Regions from separate parts of the Homo sapiens genome. Here all the other regions are linked to region 1. Evidence: promoter capture Hi-C in 16 types of primary human blood cells and fetal thymus (Javierre and others, 2016). All regions are on one chromosome and are shown on one strand. Each heading gives the region's core, a stretch centred on a gene start or on the middle of the fragment in contact. The rest is flanking DNA. Distances are from core to core; before and after follow the strand shown. Region 1 holds the start of APOBEC4 (apolipoprotein B mRNA editing enzyme catalytic polypeptide like 4). Region 2 overlaps EDEM3 (ER degradation enhancing alpha-mannosidase like protein 3). Region 3 has its middle 93 kb from the start of EDEM3.

Region 1 (3,720 bases), core at 653-3,152:
TGCCAAACTGAGTAAATGTCTCTTAAAAATTTAGATCATTGCAGGATAGTTTAGTCTTTGTAAATCTTCTTCATTATAATCTCATAATATCTCTACATAAATAATATACATCATAACTCATCTGAATGAAGATGAAACATGGCAGATTAACAAAGGAAGACAGAAAAGAGAAGAAAGGAGTCTGTTGGGGAAGCTAGACATTTCTTCCAAGCATCTCCTTTCCAATACATGTCAATTTCACTGTGAACAGGAACCATGGTAAAGGCCTTTCATTTCCTCCTGATGAAGTTTAGTCTTAAAAGTCATTCTGTGCAACCTAAATGGAATGTTGCCAACTTAACATTCCTTGGAGTCTTCCTACATCTAACAGACAACTACCTTTAAAGAATAATGACTAATTGGGGTTGCCTATCCCTAAAATCACCCTAAAATGCAATTGATAAATGTGCTAGTGGACAAAGGCTCATTTTTCCTGTTTCTTTAGGCTTAACCTTCCATAGGTATATCATTTGCTGAGCATCTAATCCACCATGGAAGGTGCACAGTGCACATGGGATGCTGGTGCAGATTTGGGGACTATATTTTTTGTCTTTTCCTCCCCTCACTGGAACCTGTCAGACAGCTAATACTTTCTTACAGAACTGAGCAGGCCCTCAGAACTTGATTCTTCAGCTAGCGGGAGAAAAACCCCAACATGTTCTCTTCAACAGTCAGCTATTATCCTTTCACCCAGCTTTTGATAAGTAATATTTTTAAAGTAATGTTTGCAATAGATTGTCATTTATTAGGATTAAATAAAAGATGAGCTATGAGGATTGACTTTCAGTTCCATATTTACAAGTTCATTCAGTTAGAAGATGCAAGCAATGAGAAAAAAGGGATGACCCATGGCAAACTGTGGGGAAGGGACAGGATGCAGCAGTGACCATGTGCCAGAGCAAGCACCAAGGAAGATGAAACTGAAAATAACCAGCTGAGGAGTTCATGAATACACCTGAGGCCCTTAGGAGACAAAAACATCTCGTCTAGTAGGAGCACTCTGGATGAGAAAGGATGTGTGCTGTGGTGCAGACTGGAAGTCTGACAGTGGAAACAGGCGTGGCGAAGCTTCGAGAAGACAGAAGGTGCCCTCTGGGTGCTCAGTATCCCTGAGTTATTTTTAGAGTATGTCTGCTTACAGCCAATAGTTATTACTGGAATGTACACAATAGCAATCCCCACTCACTCCTTCAGGTGGCCTGGGAAAGGGGAATGAGGGAATAATCCAGAGTGATTGACAGTGAATTGTGACTATCAATGTGCCTTGTGTCTAGGAGATGATGTGGGGGTCAAGGGAGACTAAGGAAAAGAATGGAGAAGGACAAGTGGCTCTTCCGTTAGCCACAGAGAAGGGGCTACAACCGATCCTGGAACAAATCTTGTCTTAAACTGGAGGGAACCACATACATACCAATAGCAAGAGTCTTCCAGGCAATTTCTAAGAGGAGGGAAACCGCTAACACATAGCCTAGGTTTAGACAGAATCAAAAACACCCCCTTCAGGGACTATGGGCCTCTTGGAGGAAGTCAACTCTCTGCTCCCTCTCACAGAGGGCAAGCCTCCCAAGGAGAAGCCCTGGCACCCACGCAGGCAACAGAACCGCCAGGCCTGGCACCTACTCTAGACCAGGAGAAAGGTGCTGAGGAGCAGGCCCTCAGAACTTGATTCTTCAGCTAGCAGGAGAAAAACTGCAACATGTTCTCTTCAACAGTCAGCTATTATCCTTTTACCCAGACTGGGATATGCAGTCCTGTATATTTTCATCTTTGGAACAGGTGGCTTGATATGCAAATAAAGTAATAAGTGTCAGAGCTGTATCCTAGCAGTAGCTACTTTGCAAACGTTACCATGGCACCCAATCAACAGTGTTCTTAGAGGTAGCCACACCTCAGCAAGGGCTTTCTAACTTGGAACAGCAAAGTTCAAATGAACGAATAGACACAAACTGTGAAAGAGTCCTGAACCCATTACAAGGTGAATCTTTACAGCACAATTGCCTTCTGAAGCTACTTGAAACAGGGCATGGGACTTAAAGGAGAAAAAAAAGGAAATGGACCATCTCTTCTAACACCTGGAATGTGATCCAAGCCTGGAGACAAATTGATGGTAATTATAACTGCTAACATTTGTTTTTAGCTGCTAACAGATTGTGCACAGATTGTGAAGGGCAAACTCCATTCTCCAATTACTCCAGTGCAAACTGTGCTTTAACAGTACTCACTAAATCCTAGTTGAGTGAAATGAGAGCAGATTGTCCTTATGGTGTGGTTCATTTATGTTAAACTATGGAAAGCTGTCCTCCCACGGTCCCAGTCCAGGGGCCACTCACAGCCAGATGCAGAGAGCCCTCCAGCACGCTGGGCTCTACACATCTCTGTTCTTACTGCCAGCAAATCTGCTCTACAGAGTATAACATGTATTTCCCAAGCACAGACAAAGCAAAAGGAAAAGGGCTAGGCAGGAAGTAGGGACACCAGCTGCTGGGGAAACAAGTCTTAAGCAACCTGGCTTGTGAGCCAATCAAGGTTGCTAAGGTAGGTCCTGGGCCTAAACAGGGTACATTTCCACCTGGTTGGGGAGAATAAAATGACAGATACCAAAAGTTAACAAGATAATCTGTGGTCGATAACAAATTGATACAATAAACCATGAATTCTCTAAGAGTTCAAAGAGGGCAACAGTTCTTTCCTGCTTCCTCTTCAGATGAGGGTGATCAAAGAACAAGCCCAGAAAGACTCTGAAAAAGTGAAAACTTCACCAATAGGAAACTATAGTTGGTTGACACTGAAAAGTTGTCAGCAAGAATGAGACTACAGAGCTCCCTCCACTATGTGTTAAAGCCACAGTCCTCTCCATCTCCTTAAAGACAGTAATGATGTATCATTTCTGGCTAAAACAGCCACAGAAGATGGGGGTGCAAAGGAAGGCGTGCTTAGAAAAGCAATAGGGAGTTTCCATTTTGCTACCTTTATCTAAAAACACACAAAGACTTTTGTTTCCCAAAAGGGTAATTATGGGACCATTATATATAGTTAACTCCACATACACATCACCTTAAGAAATAGTAATAAAGACAGAAAAGTGCCTTTTGGTTCTGTTTCCATAACATTTAGCCAAATCAATCTGTAAATTGTCTATGGGTGAGTTGAAATTGTAATCTGAGCAGTAACCTGGATGTCCGGTGTACCACCCATAAGTCGACCACATCAAGGGCACAATATTAAAAAGCATGAAAGTTTGGGCTTGGTTTTGGCAAGTTCTGATGGAGAGATCCATCCAGCCTGATGAAGGCTAAGCAAGGAGGAGGTCCAGAGAGGAAACAATGCTCGGGAGTAAGCAGGAAATGGCGTCAGGTTCCAAGAGATCGTCCACTGCCAAGGGTTAAATCCAGCTCTCTAGAAGGAAAGCTATGACAAGGTCTAGGAAGCCTCAAGGCAGGAATTCAGTTACATCAGGAAAATATAGTACTAAGGAAAAAACAAAGCTAATGTCCAATCCTATGGATTAAGATGACACAGCAGAGGCTAGGAGAAATCTAGAATCTGGTGGGTATGTGGTGCCAGAGTTACTGCAGGATATTAGCCACTAAGATAATGGTGACATGAATAAAGCTACATTCCACCTACAGCTGGATTGAGGCTTTTAACATATTTTCTGCCCAGGATAGGATTAGCATAGGA
Region 2 (3,720 bases), core at 368-2,867, 1.0 Mb before region 1:
TAGATTATAAATCATTTCCAGTTCATTTCTCTTAGAGGTGATTACCTCTAGCCATCAGCCTTACTCCATCCCATGTTTGGTATGCAATTTGAGCCACAAGGCTCGTATCGCCAACAGCTATATACATTTTGTTCCATTTTTCTGTCTTACAGAGCCATGATAGAACTGTGGTTAGTGAGTTAAAATTCCTGGAGTAACTACTGTTTTTCTCCTTTGAAACTTAGGTTTCTAAAGTTGCACCTAAGGAATCTGTCACATTTTCTGTTGAATCATGGTTTTTGTTTTTGTTTTTAACAGATATTCCTTCTGATACGGACTTGAAAATTAGTGTATGGTGACCTGTGTTTAAAAAAAAAAGTACAATACAACTACATATAGCTATATAGCTTAATGAGACTTCCACCCCCCCCCTTTTTTTTTTTGGTTTGTTGTTGTTGTAGTAGTCTGGTGCTGGCCACATTTAAGTCTTAAAAATTTTTAAATTTTGTTGTTGATGTTTGTAGACAGCCCTGTTGTTGAAATCATGGCTTTATTCATTTTATTTATTTTTTAAACTTGCCTGAATTTGTTCTAAAGGAATATTTAAGAGACATAATTTTCTTCTCTTTACCATAACATTACACAAAACTTTTTCCTAAAACACGGTTGTGAGGTACTGATGAGGTGTAAGTGGAGCTGTTAAAAACAGCAGTGCTGTATTGCAGTTATGTATATTCGTGTACAGTATGTTTAGATCCCAGGTAAACATATTCTTTTCTGAGAGGATAAATACCTGCATTCAGATATTCCAGGTAAATATAATTGAGTCAGGGAGTAGTAAATCTGATGGAGAATTCACTTTGGGGAGGGGAAAAAGAATAGTATGCAAGACCCTTATTGGCTTTTAATTATACCTGAAACCAAAATGGATATTTTTAGTCTCTCTGCATGTGAGATTTGGTGTAACAAGATAGAACTATAATATATACAGTATATGGAAGGATAGATATAGTGCTTTGTTCATTTTAATTGCAAAGCTGCCAAAATAGTTGAAGCTTAATTACTTGACTTGCCTTGATTTATAGGACTGGGGCTTGGAGAAAATGAGCAGATGTTCCTCTAAGACATCGATTACAGAAGCCTTATATACATGGATTTGATTTTGTATTTGTAGCTGAAAGTCACTGTTGTCTAAAACTAACTTTTCTAAGTTATCAAAACAACCTAATTTCTTTTCCAACAAGGAGAACTTAATGGCATGAAGGATTGTGTGACACATTGGAAAAGCCAGCTTACTGCCACTCTCTTCCTTTGGCCATTAGAGGGAGGTGTTGCCTTTCATTGACGCTTAGAAGCAAATTGTTCACTTGTTAAGAAAAGTAAATCCTTAAAAAAAGAAAAGGAAAAAATTTAACCAATTTTTCTTAATACCCAGAAGGAATTATACTCAATATTTCCCTAGTTAAGAAAAGAGGAGATAATGTTCGTCTAAAAAACTCCAACGTTGTAATTACAACTCTACATTCATTTACTTACTTGACATACTGCCACAAAGTAGTTTTTGAGTTCATTAAAAATTCCAAAGGCATTAGTTGTTTTTTTTTTTTTTAGTGTTTTGTTTTTTAGTTAACTTTTATAGACATTTTAGTAACTTGCTAAAGATTCAGGGGATTCTATGAAACCCCGAATTTAGAAACATCTGGTCTACCTCAGTTAAATGTTGACTGCTTAGAAATATAGCTGAAGTGATCACCACAGCCATAAAATTGTTTAAGAAAGATTTATATAATGTTTACAAATCTGGAATCAAGGATTTTAGCTGAAATCCTTTAAGAGATATTAGAGCAAGTATTTAATTCAGGTATTTTCAAGTTTTAAAACTTAACCTGTTTACCTACTAAAAATAAAATAGCTAGTTTTTTTCTGCATATAAAAGTTCATTGAAATGATATGCCCTTATTTGCAATACTTTTCCCATAAAGTTTTAAGTGTGAAAGAATTGTAATTTACTAGATATGTTTGGTATGGGATATTTTGTTAGGCAAGTTTTCTTTTTTCTTCTTAAATTGCAATAGGCTTCCAAAAAGAGTATAATTGTTTCAGAACAAATTAACTCTTGGCATTATACGTCTCCCTTTTTCTTTACAGTATTAGTAAAAAGAAAAATTGTACACTTTCTGATTTTAACTTCACTAATGTAATTACTCTCTCAAGAAGCTTTTAAAATTTAAATTACCATCACACAACCTTTTTTATAGTAAAGCCAACATTTGTTCTCTCACCAAACCCCATGCCAAATTCATCATGAAGAAAGCTCAGCATAAGTAATTCAAATACTGCTTATAATTTTAGAGGGGGGTAGAATTTAGTAAATATTCCAGCCGGTCGTTTTATGCACAAGGCTTCAGTCAGAACATAGAAAAAAAAAACATTCTGTGAATGAAATATTGTATGTTCAGATTTTATAAAAGACATTTTTAAAAGCCCAATTTACAGCCGTATATTTTCTTATGATGTAATTTATGAAAAAGATGTCTGTACTAACAGGTGCTGTAACACTACTGTTGTTGGATTTTATTGTTTGGTGATAAATGTATACAATATTTCTAAGGGAAACTATGTACTGTGATGTAAAAGTCTGGGCAAAATGTATATAATCCTGTATATAATTATGTATTTGATTATAATTACTGATTGTAAAGATTTAATAAAATATGTAAATATTCCAGTTTAGTTTTAATTTGAATTTTTAGAATCACTGTGCATATCCTCATACTTTTATGTCTTGATGTTTATCACTCTGTTTTCCTTTTTTTTTTAAACTCATTTTATCCTCCGGGGATTGAATTCTGGGGACATTTTAGGCTGTAGAAACCCAAGCTTGTGGGCTAAAGTAAGGATTTTGTTCTAAGAAATCACTGAAAGTTTTTCAACAAGTCAGTAGCATGCACAAAGGTAATGCTAAGTGAATAAAACTCTAGAATTGTGTATAAATTATGATCCAGCGCTTGCTCACTCTCTCCATACACATATATACATACACATTATATATATATACACACACATATATATAATGACATTGACTCATTTATTCAACAAAGATTAAGGGCGTGCATGCCTTCTGTATGCCAGGCACTATTATAGGACCTGGGGTTGTAGTGGACAGATGGACAAAATGTGGTAAAGAAGATAGAAAATAAAGTAGTAAGTAAAAAGGACAATGAGTTTATGAAGAAAAAATTATGGTGAGGGGATAGAGAGTGGTGGAAATCATGGAGTGAGTTAAATAGCCAAAATACTAACAGTGGTTATCTTGGATTGTAGGCAATTGCTATTTCCTTATTTGTATATGTCAGTATTTTCATAAGTTTCCAAAATAAGCATTATGCTTTTAAAAATAAGTAGTTTAGGTCAGCGAAAGAAGAGAACATGAAAAATACACACGAGGTGGGGCATAGTGGTGCACACCTATAATCGCATCTCCTCCTCAAGAAGCTGAGGTTGGGAGGATCGCTTGTGCCCAGAACTTTGAGACCAGCCTGGGCAACAGAGGAGACCCTGTCTCAAAAACAAAACAAAATCACCCCAGAATCCTCCTATCTCATGTTTCTGCACGATTCAACCAATCCCATATGTACTGCACACCTACCATGGACATAAGCAGCATTTGGCTGGGACTCAAAACCTTGAGAGATGAGGTTTACCAAGAAAACTGTGTGGAATAGGGAAGAGAGAAGATCT
Region 3 (3,720 bases), core at 451-2,950, 1.0 Mb before region 1:
ATTTATGTATTTTCCAAATAAAAATATGTATCATGTTTTCTCATCATAATTGTAATATGTGATGATGTATCAATTATGGAAAATACAGAAACTGTAAAAGAGGAAATGAGGAAAACCTTTGCTTCTCACTGTTACAGATAACTACTGTTCAAAATTATAGATAACAACTCTGGAGGCTGAGGTAGGAGGACTGCTTGAGCCCAAGAGTTCGAGGCTGCAGTGAACTATGATTGCACCATTGCACTCCAGTCTGGGTGACCAGCAAGATCCTGTCTCTAAAAAAAATAAAAATAATAAAAATTTTAAAAATATTTAATTAAAAAATTATAATGAATAATAATTTATTGTATATTTTAAAACAACTACAAGGAAAGAATTATAATGTTCATGACACAAAAAAAGATAAATGTTTGAGGTGACAGACATCCCAATTACCCTGACTTGATCATTACATGTTGTATACATGTATCAAAATATCACATGTACCCCAAAAATATATATAACCATGATATATCAATTAAAACATACTAAAAAAGAGCGATAACTACTCACTTTTCCTTTACTTAGAGTGTTTCATTAATACATTTACTGTTTTACAGAATTGGTATCACATTGTAGGTTACTATACTACACTTTTAAAATGTAATATTTCATAAACATTTTACCATGACATCAAATAATCTTAACACATTTAAGAATTAATGGTTGCCTTCCAATTTTCTTTGCAAAGTGGTTCATTATTTTTGTCATGGAAAAATAAATTTACACTTGAAAGAACTTTATTGTGTTAAAAAAATACTTGTAAGAGGGCTGCACTGCTTTGCCCAACAATGCAGTGTGTTATGTTTTATGTGTAGTGCAGGTCTGATGAAAGGTGATAAGCCTCCAGTAGTAACCATGATATGTGAAATGGAGATAAAGATGGTTGATTTTGTGAGGATTAAATGAGATCAGATAGGCAATGTGTCTCTAAGACAGTGTGGGCCATGGTGAATGCTGTCATGACAAAATTATGTTAGTCAAGGACATTGCTAAGAGAATAAGATGGGTGCTGGTTGGGGGTGACCTGGAGAATTGGAGGATAGCCCTGCCAGTGGCTGCTGAAGCCAGCTCCTACAGGATATCAAAAGCCAATGTTAAATACTCAGGAACTTTACAAGCTGGTTGTAAAAGCCTGTGAAATTTCACTGGTAGCTTGAAATCTGTTATGGTATGAGCATTTACACCACCAAAATTGGAAATCAGCAAATGCTATATTGTTCTCTATGTATGTATGTACTTTTCAGAGAGCTGATTTTACCAGCACACCACTAGCAGGGATAATTCAAAAGCTTTGCTTTTTCTCAAAGTGGTGGAGCCTGCAGGAAATGCTTGTGAGGGCTTGTAAAGCATTAGTAGATTTTGTTGAGATGGTGTGTGATAAACATGAGCTGAAATCTTGGTCTGATTGCTCTTGCTCTAACTGGAGGAAAGAATAGGGAAGCATAAGCGTTGGGGAAGCTAAAAGGGTAAACCTGGGGAGTTATTGTTTATGCTCCAAAAACAGAAATAACTGGATTAGAGGATAAGACTGCAGGAGATGGGAAGCCTTGTCACTTGGAGTGACAAAGACCTATTAGTAAATGGGAAACTCAGGGCTGAAGAGACATTCTTGGCCAAGAGAAACTTGTGGGAAGGAGTTTGATCGATGAACAAACACAGCAGTCTCTTTTGCCATAGAAGGCAGGTGGCAAGGATCAGAGTCAGAGGGTCCGTGCGCTACAAGGGTTCACAGATCACTGGTCTGTCTTCTTCATCTGACCCTGTCAATTACTTCTGAGATTCCCCACCCCCACCTCCAGGAGCTCAGGTGCAGGCTATAGTCTTCTTCTGCCACTTCTCTGTTCTGTCAGCACACCACTGCTTCTGTGCCCTTTGCCCTTGCAGTTTGGGTTTTCCAAAGGCAGAAGCAAGGACAGCGTTCTTCAAGAGGACTTCATGGTGTTTTAGAGATCAACACCTTGGAAAGGAAGAAAAGAAAGAGAATAGGGCCTGGGAAGACAGCTTCAATGCAGACCCAATAAAGCTTCCGGCAACCAGGTGAAGAATCTCCGGAGAGACCATTGCCCTTCAAATGTTCTGTGCCACCTGGGCCAGGATTTTAATAAGCTGCTTTGCTCAGTCTCCATATGAGAGCTGCCCAGGAAGGGAATGTCAGGGGCAAGGAGACTGCCTGCAACTGAGGCAGACCCTGGAGAGATAGAGGCGGGGGACTAACTACACTCCCACAGTGATCTGCTTTTGGGGAGGTGGCGTGGCAGAGAAGACACAGCTTTCTTCTTCCTCCACAGTGAGGGAGCAGCCTCCTTCACTACCCTCAGTATTGGTGCTCTTTAGAGGAATTTTCTGAAGGGCTGGGGACATCAAAAAGGAAGTAGGACACAGTAGAGAATAGGTCATAATTAATGTTAGAGGTGGCCACTGTCAGGGCTCACAGGTCCAGGTGGGCCTATCCTTGGCCTCTGCAGAGGGTTTTGGGGCCAGGCTCCACTGGCTGGGCCTGCCCACCCCTGCATCATGACTTCCTGTCCAGACCCAACTGCCCAAGGTCAGGAGAGAAGAAAATGCTCTCTGCCTCAGCCCAACTCAGGGCCTGGCTTCCCAGGCTCCATTTCTTGTGTTAGGATCTACCCTTTCTCAGCATTTTTTCAAAGGGGGAATGACTGCCTCTTTCTTGGGGAATGCCATTTTACACACACAGGTGGGGAGTGGGTGGGACAGCCACCTCAAGCTGGTTTCTCTTCAGCAGATTCTGGGTGGCTTAATCTTACAAAATGGTTTAGGCAGAGCTGCCCTAGGCCAGTCCATTTCTTTCTTACTGTGTCATACATGGGATTTGGTCCTGTAGCACTTCTTTCCAGCTCTCTACATCTTGCAAATTATGCTTTAAAAATCCTCATGCGTTTGATATAGGGTGCATTCTAAATCATTCAGAAAAGGAAAACATTTCTCCTATTTTTCTCTTTCCCTCCCTCCTCACCATAAAACAAACATGAAATCTCCAGTCAGAAGAAAACATAACCCAGTCTACAGAAATCTGAGCTCTGGCACAAGCAGACACATGTTAGCATCACCCTGCAGAACACTCAGCTTCTGAGGCAAAAATATTTCTTTTGGGAGAGGGATGATTTTACTAGGTTTTTTCTGAATAAACTTTATGAAACCACACGGTTTCTTCATATGGTTTTCCCAGAATAAAAGGACAGTCTACCAAAAGTGAATTTGAGTTTCAGTCTTTTCAGGAAACAGTGGCTTGCATTTTAAAATCATTGTTTTCTTCAGCTTTTAAATTAGTTAAAAATTAGTTAAAAAACAAATTAGGAAGAAAATTCTAGCTACAGGATTCCATAAGAGATACACATAACTGTGAAAATAAGAAAAAAATTCCCTATGAATAAATTGAGAATAACTTGAGTGGGAAAGCTTTAAAAGGTTTAAAACAGAAGAAAACTATCATGCAAGCATACTAATACATATTATTGCAAAAATGTTTAAGAAAGAATGAGCAAAGAGAACAATGTATCATAATAGTAATAATATTTGACCAAGGAGGGCTTATTATAAAAATACAAGAATATAAGAATGGTTCAATATTAATAAATATATTAATGAAATTCATTATATCAGTATATTAAAGCACATTATTAGTCAAAAAACTAAGTAAAGTTATAAATAGAAAAG

What was found. The method cuts DNA at HindIII sites, captures the fragments that hold promoters and counts their contacts. A CHiCAGO score of 5 or more calls a contact.
Region 2: a contact is called between a fragment that was not itself captured here and the fragment with the promoter of APOBEC4 in region 1, in 1 of 17 cell types (megakaryocytes). The highest score is 8.6, in megakaryocytes.
Region 3: a contact is called between a fragment that was not itself captured here and the fragment with the promoter of APOBEC4 in region 1, in 3 of 17 cell types (erythroblasts, M2 macrophages and total CD8 T cells). The highest score is 9.9, in erythroblasts.

The regions. Positions count from the first base shown.
Region 1 is chr1:183,651,498-183,655,217 of GRCh38, reverse strand. It overlaps APOBEC4 (apolipoprotein B mRNA editing enzyme catalytic polypeptide like 4), which reads left to right and starts at 1,902. Exons shown (of 2, transcript NM_203454.3): 1 at 1,902-2,146. It also overlaps a transcript of RGL1 not described here. The HindIII fragment of the contact is 5,397 bases long and covers 1,110-3,720 here.
Region 2 is chr1:184,689,490-184,693,209 of GRCh38, reverse strand. It overlaps EDEM3 (ER degradation enhancing alpha-mannosidase like protein 3), which reads left to right. Exons shown (of 20, transcript NM_025191.4): 20 at 1-2,973. Among named protein-coding and RNA genes, the nearest start is that of EDEM3, 64 kb to the left of the region's middle. The HindIII fragment of the contact is 1,162 bases long and covers 1,037-2,198 here.
Region 3 is chr1:184,659,674-184,663,393 of GRCh38, reverse strand. No RefSeq gene overlaps it. Among named protein-coding and RNA genes, the nearest start is that of EDEM3, 93 kb to the left of the region's middle. The HindIII fragment of the contact is 734 bases long and covers 1,334-2,067 here.